Regions from separate parts of the Homo sapiens genome. Here region 1 is linked to region 2. The links are contacts of gene promoters, found by promoter capture Hi-C in human tissues and cell types (Jung and others, 2019). All regions are on one chromosome and are shown on one strand. Each heading gives the region's core, a stretch centred on a gene start or on the middle of the fragment in contact. The rest is flanking DNA. Distances are from core to core; before and after follow the strand shown. Region 1 overlaps CSMD2 (CUB and Sushi multiple domains 2). Region 2 holds the start of CSMD2 (CUB and Sushi multiple domains 2).

Region 1 (5,555 bases), core at 829-3,328, 180 kb after region 2:
GCAGTGGAAAAATCTCAGCTCACTGCAGCCTTCAACTTCTGGACCCAAGGGATCCTCTCACCTCAACCTCCCGAGTAGTTGGGACTAAAGATGCATGCCACCGTATCTGGGTAATGTTTTTACTTTTTGTAAAGACAGAGTCTCGCTATGTTGCCCAGGCTGGTCTGGAACTCCTGCAATCCTTCTTCCTCCACCTCCCAAAGCGCAGGCGTGAGCCACTGCACCCAGACCAAGATTTCTTTTGGGAGGGATTTGTTTTCTTAAAAAGCAAGTTTGGAAACCAGAGCTTCACACTTGAGTGTCTTGCTGCTTTGAGTGTGATCTGAGAAGCAGCTGCATGGGCACCCCCTGAGAGCTTGTTAGAAATGCAGAACTCAGCCCCCACCCCACACCGAGTGAAATAGAACCTGTTGCACTTTCAAGATCCACAAGTGATCTCTACACTGTTGAAGAAGCACTGCCTTAGTCTAAATCAGGATCACTGAGGAGCTTGTCAAAATGCAGATTCCCTGGCTTCCTCCATGAGATTCTGACTCAGGAGTAAGGGAAGGCCCAAGCTATGTCCATTTTGTCCTTTTTTTTTTTTGGTGGGGGGAGACAGAGTCTCGCTCTGTCACCCAGGCTGGAGTGCAGTGGCGCGATCTCGGCTCCCTGCAAGCTCCGCCTCCAGGGTTCACGCCATTCTCCTGCCTCAGCCTCCCGAGTAGCTGGGACTACAGGCATGCGCCACCACGCCTAGCTAATTTTTTGTATTTTTAGTAGAGACAGGGTTTCACCATGTTGGTCAGGCTGGTCTTTAACTCCTGACCTTAGGTGATCCACCTGCCTTGGCCTCCCTTGGTGCTGGGATTCCAGGCATGAGCCACTGCACCCGGCCTATGTCCATTTTTCATAACACCCCTGGTTATGGTGCAAGTCTTTCGTCTGCCCTGAGATGTTAATGTTCACTCTCGGCTAACAGCTTCAGGGAGGCAGGCTGCCCAATACATGCACAGAAACAAGCTTCCTCAAAACGTCTTTCTCTCCTTTACAGAGATCCTGTCCTCTGATGTCCCTGACCTCAGAGGTAGTAGGATGGGTGATGGGCTGGGGAGAAAGCATGCCTGTGACCTGCAGCTTCACAAGTTCTCACTTTAGCCTTGACCACCGAGACATCCTTCTGCTACAGGGAGAGATAGACTAAGACAGCAGACGTTCTGTGAGAACCAGGTCTGTCCCCAAGAAGAGGAAGTCTTGCAGATTACAGACCAGATCTGCAAATATTCCTGCAGACTCTTTGAAATTACTTTCTACATAACCAGTCTCCAAGGATTTGATGTCAGTTCTTTCCTCCCTTCTTGCCCGCTAGAACTTCCCACAGGGAAAAATGTTCCCAAGTAGAGAGATGCCCCAAGATAGGTGGCAAGGAGGGGAGAGGCAGGTGATTAGACCTGCTGCATTGCCCACATCCTTGAGCATGAGGCCATAAATAAGTTCTTGGCATCTGCTAAGTGCTCAAAAAATAATCATCGGATATTTTTTTAAAAAGCCATCTCCCACCTGGATTGTTGCACTGCCTTCTAAGCAGCTCCCTGCCTCCAGTCTCCCTCTGCAGAGGGCCCTTGTCATAACTGTAGACCCCTAAGGGAGTGTCTGAGAAGCTGGGCTGGCAATGGGAGGCTCTGGCAATCAGGCTCTTCCTGTAACAGCCCATCTGTAGACAGCTGGGTCCCCACTCCCCTGATCCTGCAGGTCTCTGCTCACACCCTGCCTTCTTAGAAGTGTTGCCCTCCTCATCTCACTCCCCTTTAATTCATCCTTCTTGGGCTCCTAGCCCTGCCATCCCTTGTTCTGAGTCCCTCAAGACTCCCTTGGACTCCTAGGGTCTGGTCCAAATGTCTTGGATGTACAAAGCCTTCACGAGCTGGGTTCTGCCTACCCCTTCACCCACATCTTTGCCAGCCCTCCCTGTGCCCTGTGCTCCACCAAGGCCACAGTAGATCCAGCGCCTTGAGGGTGCCATGCCCTTGCGGTCATCTCTGCCTGTGCACCTGCTGCTCCCTCTGCCAGGGATATCCTTTCCTCCACCAACTGGCAGGTCTCCTATAACCTATTCCAGGAGTCTCTTCACAGGTCCGTCATTCATTCAGTCATTCAACATGAATTGAGTGAGTTCCTACCATGTGCCACATACTAAGCTAGAGTCTGGGGACGTACAGTGCCTGTGATAGATTCATCAACTCATTTAAAATACTCCCAGTCCAAGAAGCTTCAGGATAACCTCTCTCCTCCCTTCCACAGTTTGCTAATGAGGAAACTGAAGCACGGTGTGGTTAAATGGCTTTCTCAAGGACAAACTACTAGAAGGTAGAGGGTCAGGACTGGAGCACAGAGTCTGGCTTCAGAGCCCAGGGCTTGGGCACTGTGGCACTGTGCCACTGTGCAGCCCCTTTGCAAAGGTCTGTTTCTCAATGTCTCCTGTGATCTTGCTCCTCCTTCCTCCCGCCCTGGTTCTCCTCTGTTGCTCCCAGCTCAGAGGATGGAACGTCTGTTCATCCAGTAGCCCCCCAAGAAAACTGGTAGTCATTTTGGCCACTGATCTCTCCATCACCCACTTCTGTTTGCCTTCTGAATGTTTCTGACATCTGTCCACTTTCCACTTTTCTTCACCGTCCTGTCACCCACTAGCCTGAGGTTCCATCTTGTCTCACCTGGACAGCTATGGTAGCTCTAAATTGCCTTCTCTGCCTTCACCCATGCCCTCGGCACAAATCAGCAGACTTACAGCCACTCTGATCAGGGCACCCAGTGTGACTTCCACAGGCCTCCCATACTGCCCTCTCTGCCCTTTCTCAGCCCTCCCTCTGAAGCATCTGCACAGGGGACCCCTTCCACCTGGGGGTGCTTCTTATCCTGCAGCCCCATCCCAGCAGAACCTCACTGTGCCCATTCCTCAGCTCTCAGCTCCAGACTCATTGTCCCAGGGGTTCTCCTCTGATGGCCTGTCCAGCCCAAATGCCTTTGCTTCCCTCATGGGCCAGTCTGGCTCTATGATTACATACTTGGCAGTGTCATTGCTGTATGAGCACCTGTCTCCTTCATGAGACTGAAAGCTCCAGGAGAGTGGCAACATATCTAGTTCTGGTCTCTACTGTATACTCAGTGCGTGGCCCAGGGCCAGATATAGAGTAGGACGGAAATACGTGATGAACAAATGAAGGGGTTGTTATGACGATCAAATGAGAAAGTATAGGTAAAAGTACTCAAAACAGCCCCTAGCACAAGTCAGATACTCAATTATAAGCTACTAGTAATGAGTCTTGTTGTTAGAACCAATCTTGAGCAAGCCTTACCTGATGCCCAAAGGGGGATGAAAATTGCAAATAACGAGGATGGCAACTGCACACAGCTGGAAGGGACTATACAGAGCTGAGGGTGGAAGCTGCAAACAGCTGAGAAAGTGCTTATGAACAGCTGGGGCTGTGACTGCACACTCCTGAGGATAAGGCCTGCAAATAAGTGGGAAGTGAGTGCAAATAGCTGGAATGTTGAACTGCAAACAACCGGGAGTAAGGACTGCAAAACAACCAGAGCAGAGGCTGCATCTGGGGAGCAGAAGAGCTTCGGAGCACTCACATCACCCACTGCCTCTGCAATACTGGGTCCCTGCACTTTCTCCTCTCTCCCAACAGAAGTGTGCCCAAGAGACCCCAGGGGTATCTCTCACGGGCCCACAAATAAGACTGGTTCGCCTGGTCTATTCTGAAGTAACTTTTCCCTCCCCTCCCATGCTCCACCATGTTACTTTCTCTCAGTTCTTCAGATAGGCTTGTATCCTCCCACTACCTGACCTTTGCACATGCCAGGCCCTCCTTCTGGAAGTTCCCCACCCCATCCTTCAGATCTGAGTTCCAATACCACTTTATCAGAGAGACAAGATCAGATTATCCTTCTCCATTTTCCTTCGTTTCATCATCTTCAGTGAGAACAATGATTAGCATTTGCATATACTTGTTGGGCTTTCTGATGACTGCCTACCACCCCTACTAGACTCTAATCTTCTAGAGAGCAGGGACTTAGCACCTAGTCCACGGTCTGACACGTAGTAGGTGCTCATAAATATGAGATGGATGGAAGGATGAATGGAGGAACTGGAGCAATGGTTGAGTGGACAGAGAGTTCCTCAAAGGCACAAGCGAAGAAAATAAAACAACTGTCTTAATTGAGTGCTTACTGTGTACCTGGCCCTGGAACAAGTCATCCCTTTCTTGTTAGTGCTTGGGATGTATATGAATGAATCATTCTTTGTCTCTCCAGGGAGTCAGAAGATCTTGATTCTTTCCTTCATTCAGCCAGTGTTTCACTGTGAGACCTGACCTACTAGGAAACCTGTTAGGAAAAGACAAAATATTCCTGCCAGTGCTTTGCACTGACAGCTACCCTTCCTGCAACCTACCTCAGATAACAGCAAGGAAGGAGCCAGTGGTCCTGAGGCTCCAGTTTACCCATTTATGAGAGAGGGATTTGGGTTCTAAGATGATCCCTAAGGACCATGCCAGGTGGGATAGTCTGAGTCTGTGAAACTTCTCAGGAGGTTCCTTATATCTTTATTTTGTAACTGGCCAGGTTCCAGAGTCCCAGCCCCAGATAAGAGTTGAGGGTTCTGGCCACTGGTGCCCACTGCCTTGGCCAGGAAAGGGTCCACAGTGAAGGCTCTCCCCTGGTTCCAGGACACTTGTTCTATCTACCAAGTTGCCTACAAGAATCTCAGATCTCTAAAGCGGGCACAGAACCCAGACTTACACAGACACAGAAACCCACTAAAACCCCCAAAAATAACAATAGTCAATCTTTATAAAGCACTGGCTAGATGCCTGGCATTGCTCTAAACTGAAGCTCAGAGAGGTTAAAGAACTTGCCCAAGGTCACACAGCTAGTAAGTCAGAGCTGGGCTTTGGACCCAGGCAGATGGGCTCTGGGGTCCCTGCTCTTAACCCCTGCATCATAGTCTGAGACATCCAGTCACACTCACCACCAGACACACAGGCTCACAAAAGTACACACACACACATAAAACACACACAAGCTTTTCCAGTGAAGGCAACAAAATGGCTGCTGTCTCCCTTCTCTTTCCTTTCTTGTAGTGATTTAGGCTCTGTGGGCTAAGAACTCTGCACAAAGCCAGAAAGGGTCTCTTGTTACCAGTCTGTTTCTCAAATGGATTGGCATTCACAGTCGCTCTGCCAGCCAGTCTGGACAAGAGGCTTGGGAAGCACTGAGCCTGTAGTGCCCTTGGATACTGGTACCCACAGTAGGAGGAAGGGGCAGGGCTATTTCTCAGCAGGTTGACGACGCTTTGGATGGTAGCCGAAATGCCTCCTTCATCTCTGTCCCATTAATTCAAAGATGCCATAGGAAACCTGCTAGGAAAACACAAAATAGGCTTGTCTGGCTCTCTGCACTGACAACCACCCCTACTCCACCCTGCTTCAGACACAAGGAGGAAGGGAACCTGGGCAGCTGTGACGGGGCCAGGTCCTACTGGGCACAGCCACCCTGGGCATCTCACTGGCAGG
Region 2 (4,843 bases), core at 666-3,165:
CTCCAGGGCTGGTGGGAAGGCTGAGCCCTCTCTTTCGGGGGCTGAGTCTGGACAATGGGAAGGGAGAAGCCCCCTCCTCACTGCCCCGGGAACATAAAGCAGGCCTTTCACTGAGGAGTTCTGGCTGCTTCGGTTGGTTCTTGGCACCCAGCAAGGCGGCGTCGGGAGGGGCGGGCATACAAGCGTGTTGGGGGTGGGGACCAGGCCCGCGATTCTGAGGAGATTCGCCCGCCCAGGGCCACCGGGCTGGCTCCCCAGCTGTGGGATGAGCTCATGCAGGGAAACCGGAACAACTTGGGGTGGGGGGAGGGAGGAAGAGTGGCATCTAGGAGGCTGCGAAAGCGTGGCTCTGGGGAGGAAGTTTTTCATGGGGAGTAGGGACAAGCCTCCACTCCTCCAGCCCTGCCCCCGCCCCCCAATTCATATCGTCAACTCCACAGCCCCTCTTCACACCCTTCCTTGGATGGAAATTCCTGGCCACGCTGACAGCCGGCCAACCTGGGTCGCCAGCCACCCCCAGCCTGGCTCGCCATCCCTACAGTCCCTCTCCACACCCTTCCCCGGAAATTCTCAGGCCCCACCGCCCGCCGGCCACTGCCCCCTTGGCCACACAGATGCCAACGCTCCGTTTTGGCCAAATCAGGCTGCCCTAAGCCCGGAGCACAGCTTCTCTGGGGTGTGTCGGCAAAGGGGGCGGGGGTGCCCATCGCAGGTGCCTTTCCACTGCACGCGCCAGCAGAAGCCTCCTCTCTGGACCTTGCCCCTCCCAGTTTCCTCCAGCCTCCCCCCATGAAGCGTCTCTTCCCTCTCGCCGAGAGTTTGGCGTAGACAGCGAAGGAGCCATCGTGACTGGCGGAGAAGCCTGGAGTAGACGAGACAGAGACGGCGACCGAGTCGGGTGGGGGATGGGGTGGGGACCGACACTAAGCCCTTGGGGCCTAGAGGCAGCCGCTACTGGGGAGAGGTGGGGAGCAGCTCACGTCCTTGGGAAGAACTCTCTTGGTTTGGGGCCTTGGCTGGGAGGAGGAAGGGGAGAAGAAGAAGTAGGATCCGATTATTTAAATTTGGGGATAAATTGTACTAGTAACTCTTGCACCGTCCTTCCACCAACCTCACTCCCCACCCCCAACTCGCGTGCACACAGGGACCGCCTCTGCCACCCTGAGATTTTTGTCTTAGGGTAGGAGTGGGACCGCACTGGGTCAAATGAACCGGTTCCCCCCCCTCCCCACCCCACACACAACCCCCCTCCACCGCCCTCCAATTCTTAACCCTGCCTCTGTCTACGCACACACGCCCCTCTCCTGGGATGGGGTAGGAGGCTATTGTGAATGAGGCTCATAAGCATCGCCCCCGGCCCTAGATGGCAAGTTCAAAGCCACCACCCAAGATCAGCTGGTAAGAGCCAAGACTTGGGGAACGCGTCCTTCTTTGGTTACCTTTTCCCAGACAGGATTCCAATTTCCAAACGTGGAAGAGGTGTGCGTGTATGTGCCTGTGTGTGTGAGTGCGTGTGTCTCTGTCACTGTGTGTGTGTGTGTGTGTTTGTGTGTGTGTGTGTGGAGAGGGGGGTGTATTAATGGGTGATGTTATAAATGAAAACAGGAGGACTGAACTTAAAAGAAACTGGTCAATTGCAAAACAGACACGGATAAACAACCCTTTAGATGTAATTTGTGGTTTATCTGGAGGTGGAGGTGGCGCTGAAGAGGAACCCCCGCCCCCCAATATTTTATCCTTAGCTGCGCCTCCACCCCCAGCATTTGGAGCGGCGGAGAAGCGGCTCCGGAGTGATTAATCCGGGGATAATTCACCCCCTCCCGCCCCCCGGCGCGAACCCCGCGAAGCGGGATTGGAGCGAGTCATTTCCGAGAGCGCAGCGCGCCTCTCCCCGGCCGGGCGGACACTTGGTTCATTCCAGCCGCAGAAGCTCAGGGCTCCCGCGTACCGGGATTTTTTCCGAGCAGAAAAAAGCTCCAGAGCTCTCCTGACCTCCTTTCTCCTCGGCGGCGAGCGGAGCCTCTCCCTCGGCGCTGCCGGCCGCGCCATGCCGCGCTCGCGGGGACGGGAGCTGGGGCGCTGCGGCTGCCCCGCGGGGAGGGCTCGCGGCGAAACCGGGATTTCGGCGCTTGTGCCGGGCGCCGGGAGCCGCTGGGGCCGCCCGCCGCCGCCAACGCCGCCGCCTCTGCTGCTGTTGCTGGGCTGTGGGTTGCTCAGCGTCTCGGCCGCCGCGGGTGAGTCCAGCCGCGCCGAGGAGCCAGCGGCCGCCGCGCGCCCCACCCGAGCCCCGAGCCCACCCATCCTCGACCCGGTCCCAGTCCCTCCCCCCGCCTCTATCCCTGCCTGAATCTCCCACCCTCCCAGTTGCCTACTCTCATTCTCATCCCTGCCTCCGTCTCCCACCCCACCCTCAGCCACGTCCTCACCTCCACCCTCACCCTCACTGCTGCCCCAACCCCAGCCGCAACTTGGACGGATGCGGCCGGTGTGGGGGCCTGGGAGACAGACATCCCCGCCCGGGGTTGCGGGGCACCTGGTCTGTGGCTTCAGTTTCTCCAGCCTCCCAGCCCCCACGGTGCTAGGCTTTTTCCCGATAAACTTTCCGGGAGCCCTACTCCCCCGGCTCCTGATTCTGCCAGGCACGCTGGTCCTGGGGGCTGGAGAGGAACCGTGCGCCCCCTCCCCATTTCTGCGTCTGCAAGGTCTGCCCTTCCCTGCCCCCGCCCATTTTCTCCAATTGAAACCGGTGCCCCCTCTGGAACCGACTGCAGACTGCGGCCGCCATCCCCCTCCTCAAATGCTACCCCTCCCTCGGCGCTCGGAGCTAGGAGGGGGTTCAGGTGGACGCGTGCCCACGGTGGGGGTCCCGCGCATTCCTTGCAGGAGGGTGCAGGTGGGGGCTGGAGGGTGTTGAGGGATGGGAAGGAGGGGGTGGGGGTTGTAGCCCGAGGCGGGGGAGGGAGTGCCGCCGCCAGGCTTCGCGCTGCCACATTCCCCTCGGTGCTCACTCCGCGCCAAAGTGCCCTTTCCCGCGCCCTGCTGCAGCCGAGCGCCTCGGCTGCGGCAGCGGCAGCGGCGGCGCGGGCGGCGGGACCAGCTCCCGACGACCGAGTCCGGGAAGGGGCAGATCTAGCGGGTGCGGAGAGTCCCGGAACTTCGCGGGTGTCTGGCTGCAGCTTGCAGCGCGCGGGGGAGGTACGCGAACCTTCGAGGGAACCCGGTCCCCTGTGGAGGCTACTGGCCGCGACTGGTGCCCTCCCGCTTTACCCACAGCACCCCTCCGAAGCTCAGTTCTAGCTACAAGCTAGAAAGTTCCGTGTGCCCGGGTGGAGACGGGTCCAAACCGGGATGCCTGGAACCGCATTTTCATTTAGCCCGCGAGGCTGACACCCACTGGGGGAGAAACCGAAACACCTGCTGGCCAGGCCTAGACCTAGGGCACCTTCGACCTGGAGCCGTGTTTTCTTTTTTGTTTTTGTTTTTGTTTTGTTTTGTTTTGTTTTGAAACCACCGATTGAACCTCTGAAGGCTTGGCCTGGACCACCCCAGTTCCCCTTCTTGGGAAAGTGCGCCTCTCCTCTGGCAGGTCAGTGAGTGGCGAGCTCTCTGGCCCACTCTGGCCTTCAGCGTCTTGTGAGTCTGTCCTCGCAGACCGTGTCGCCCACCGCTTAACCGCGGCATGTTGGGGTTCTTGGTCAGGGAGGGCGCCCCGAGCCAGCTCTGGCTCTCTCATTCCTAGCTGACGGGACTTTCTTAGGTTCTGCTAAGAGTCATAGCCACCGACACCCAGAGAGGGGCGCCCGCGGTGCGCGCGCCTGGGAGCTCTGGCCTCTCGCACACCCACACCCACTGGGAGGCTGTGCATACCGACGCTGCTGGTCACCCAGACTTGCCACATGGGCGGTGGGGGAATCGCTGCTACCTCCCGCCAGGCCTCCCGGACGTACGTTGAGGCGAGGCCGGTCTCTGGCTTAGCTGATTGGAGAATGTCTCGGCATCGGACTGAATTGTTTTTCTGGCTAGATTTGTCCCTGCCCCTTGGGCATATCCTGCCCCTAGGGGAGAGAAAAAGGCCGACTCACCGGCGCTTGCACCGCTCAGCGGTGCTGGAATCCTGCCCTATAGAGATCCATTTGCTCGCAGCTCCTTGCTCAGTAGAGAAGTTGCGGGGAGGGGGCCTTGTGTTCATGGCTTGGGGTAGTTCCTCTCCGGCAGGCCCTGCTCTGGCTTGCAAGCTTCCAGTACATTTCTTTTCTTTTCTTCTCTTTCTTTTTAAATTTTTTTTAAGACGGAGTTTTGCTCTTCTCGCCCAGGCTGGAGTGCAATGGCGCGGTCTCAGCTCACTGCAACCTCCGCCTCCTGGGTTCAAGCGATTCTCCTGCCTCAGTCTTCCGAGTAGCTGGGATTACAGGCGACCGTCACCACGCCCGGTTAATTTTTGTATTTTTAGGAGAGATGGGGTTTCACCATGTTGGCCAGGCTGGTCTCGAGCTCCTGACTTCAGGTGATCCGCCTGCCTCTGCCTCCCAAAGTGCTGGGCTTACAGATGTGAGCCACCGCGCCCAGCCCAGTACATTTCTTTTTAAGCCTTTCCCGCCTTTAGATGGGCTGTTTGGCCTTGCAGGCAGCAGAGATTTGGAAATGGACTTGGTGACAGAAGATCGGCAGGATTTGGTACATTAGAAGGGGAAACACATTCATTTTGTGTTCAGTTCACACTGTTGAATTTAAAAGATGCTCAGGACTGAACCGTCTCCCTTCCTCGGCTCAGTGATCACTGGATAAATGAATAAAATAGTTTGAAAAAGGGGAGTCTCCTCACCCACCCATACCTTCTCCCCTC

The links. The method cuts DNA at HindIII sites, captures the fragments that hold promoters and counts their contacts. A contact is called where the count stands out against the background at its distance.
Region 1: a fragment that was not itself captured here is called in contact with the fragment with the promoter of CSMD2 in region 2 in 1 of the 25 tissues and cell types used here (dorsolateral prefrontal cortex).

Annotation. Positions count from the first base shown.
Region 1 is chr1:33,979,193-33,984,747 of GRCh38, reverse strand. All of the region lies in intron 3 of CSMD2 (CUB and Sushi multiple domains 2), which reads left to right. Among named protein-coding and RNA genes, the nearest start is that of CSMD2-AS1, 110 kb to the right of the region's middle. The HindIII fragment of the contact is 3,159 bases long and covers 499-3,657 here.
Region 2 is chr1:34,162,302-34,167,144 of GRCh38, reverse strand. It overlaps CSMD2 (CUB and Sushi multiple domains 2), which reads left to right and starts at 1,915. Exons shown (of 71, transcript NM_001281956.2): 1 at 1,915-2,234. The coding sequence starts at 2,048. It also overlaps a transcript of C1orf94 not described here. RefSeq lists enhancers at 3,405-3,464, 3,885-4,014. The HindIII fragment of the contact is 8,389 bases long and covers 1-4,843 here.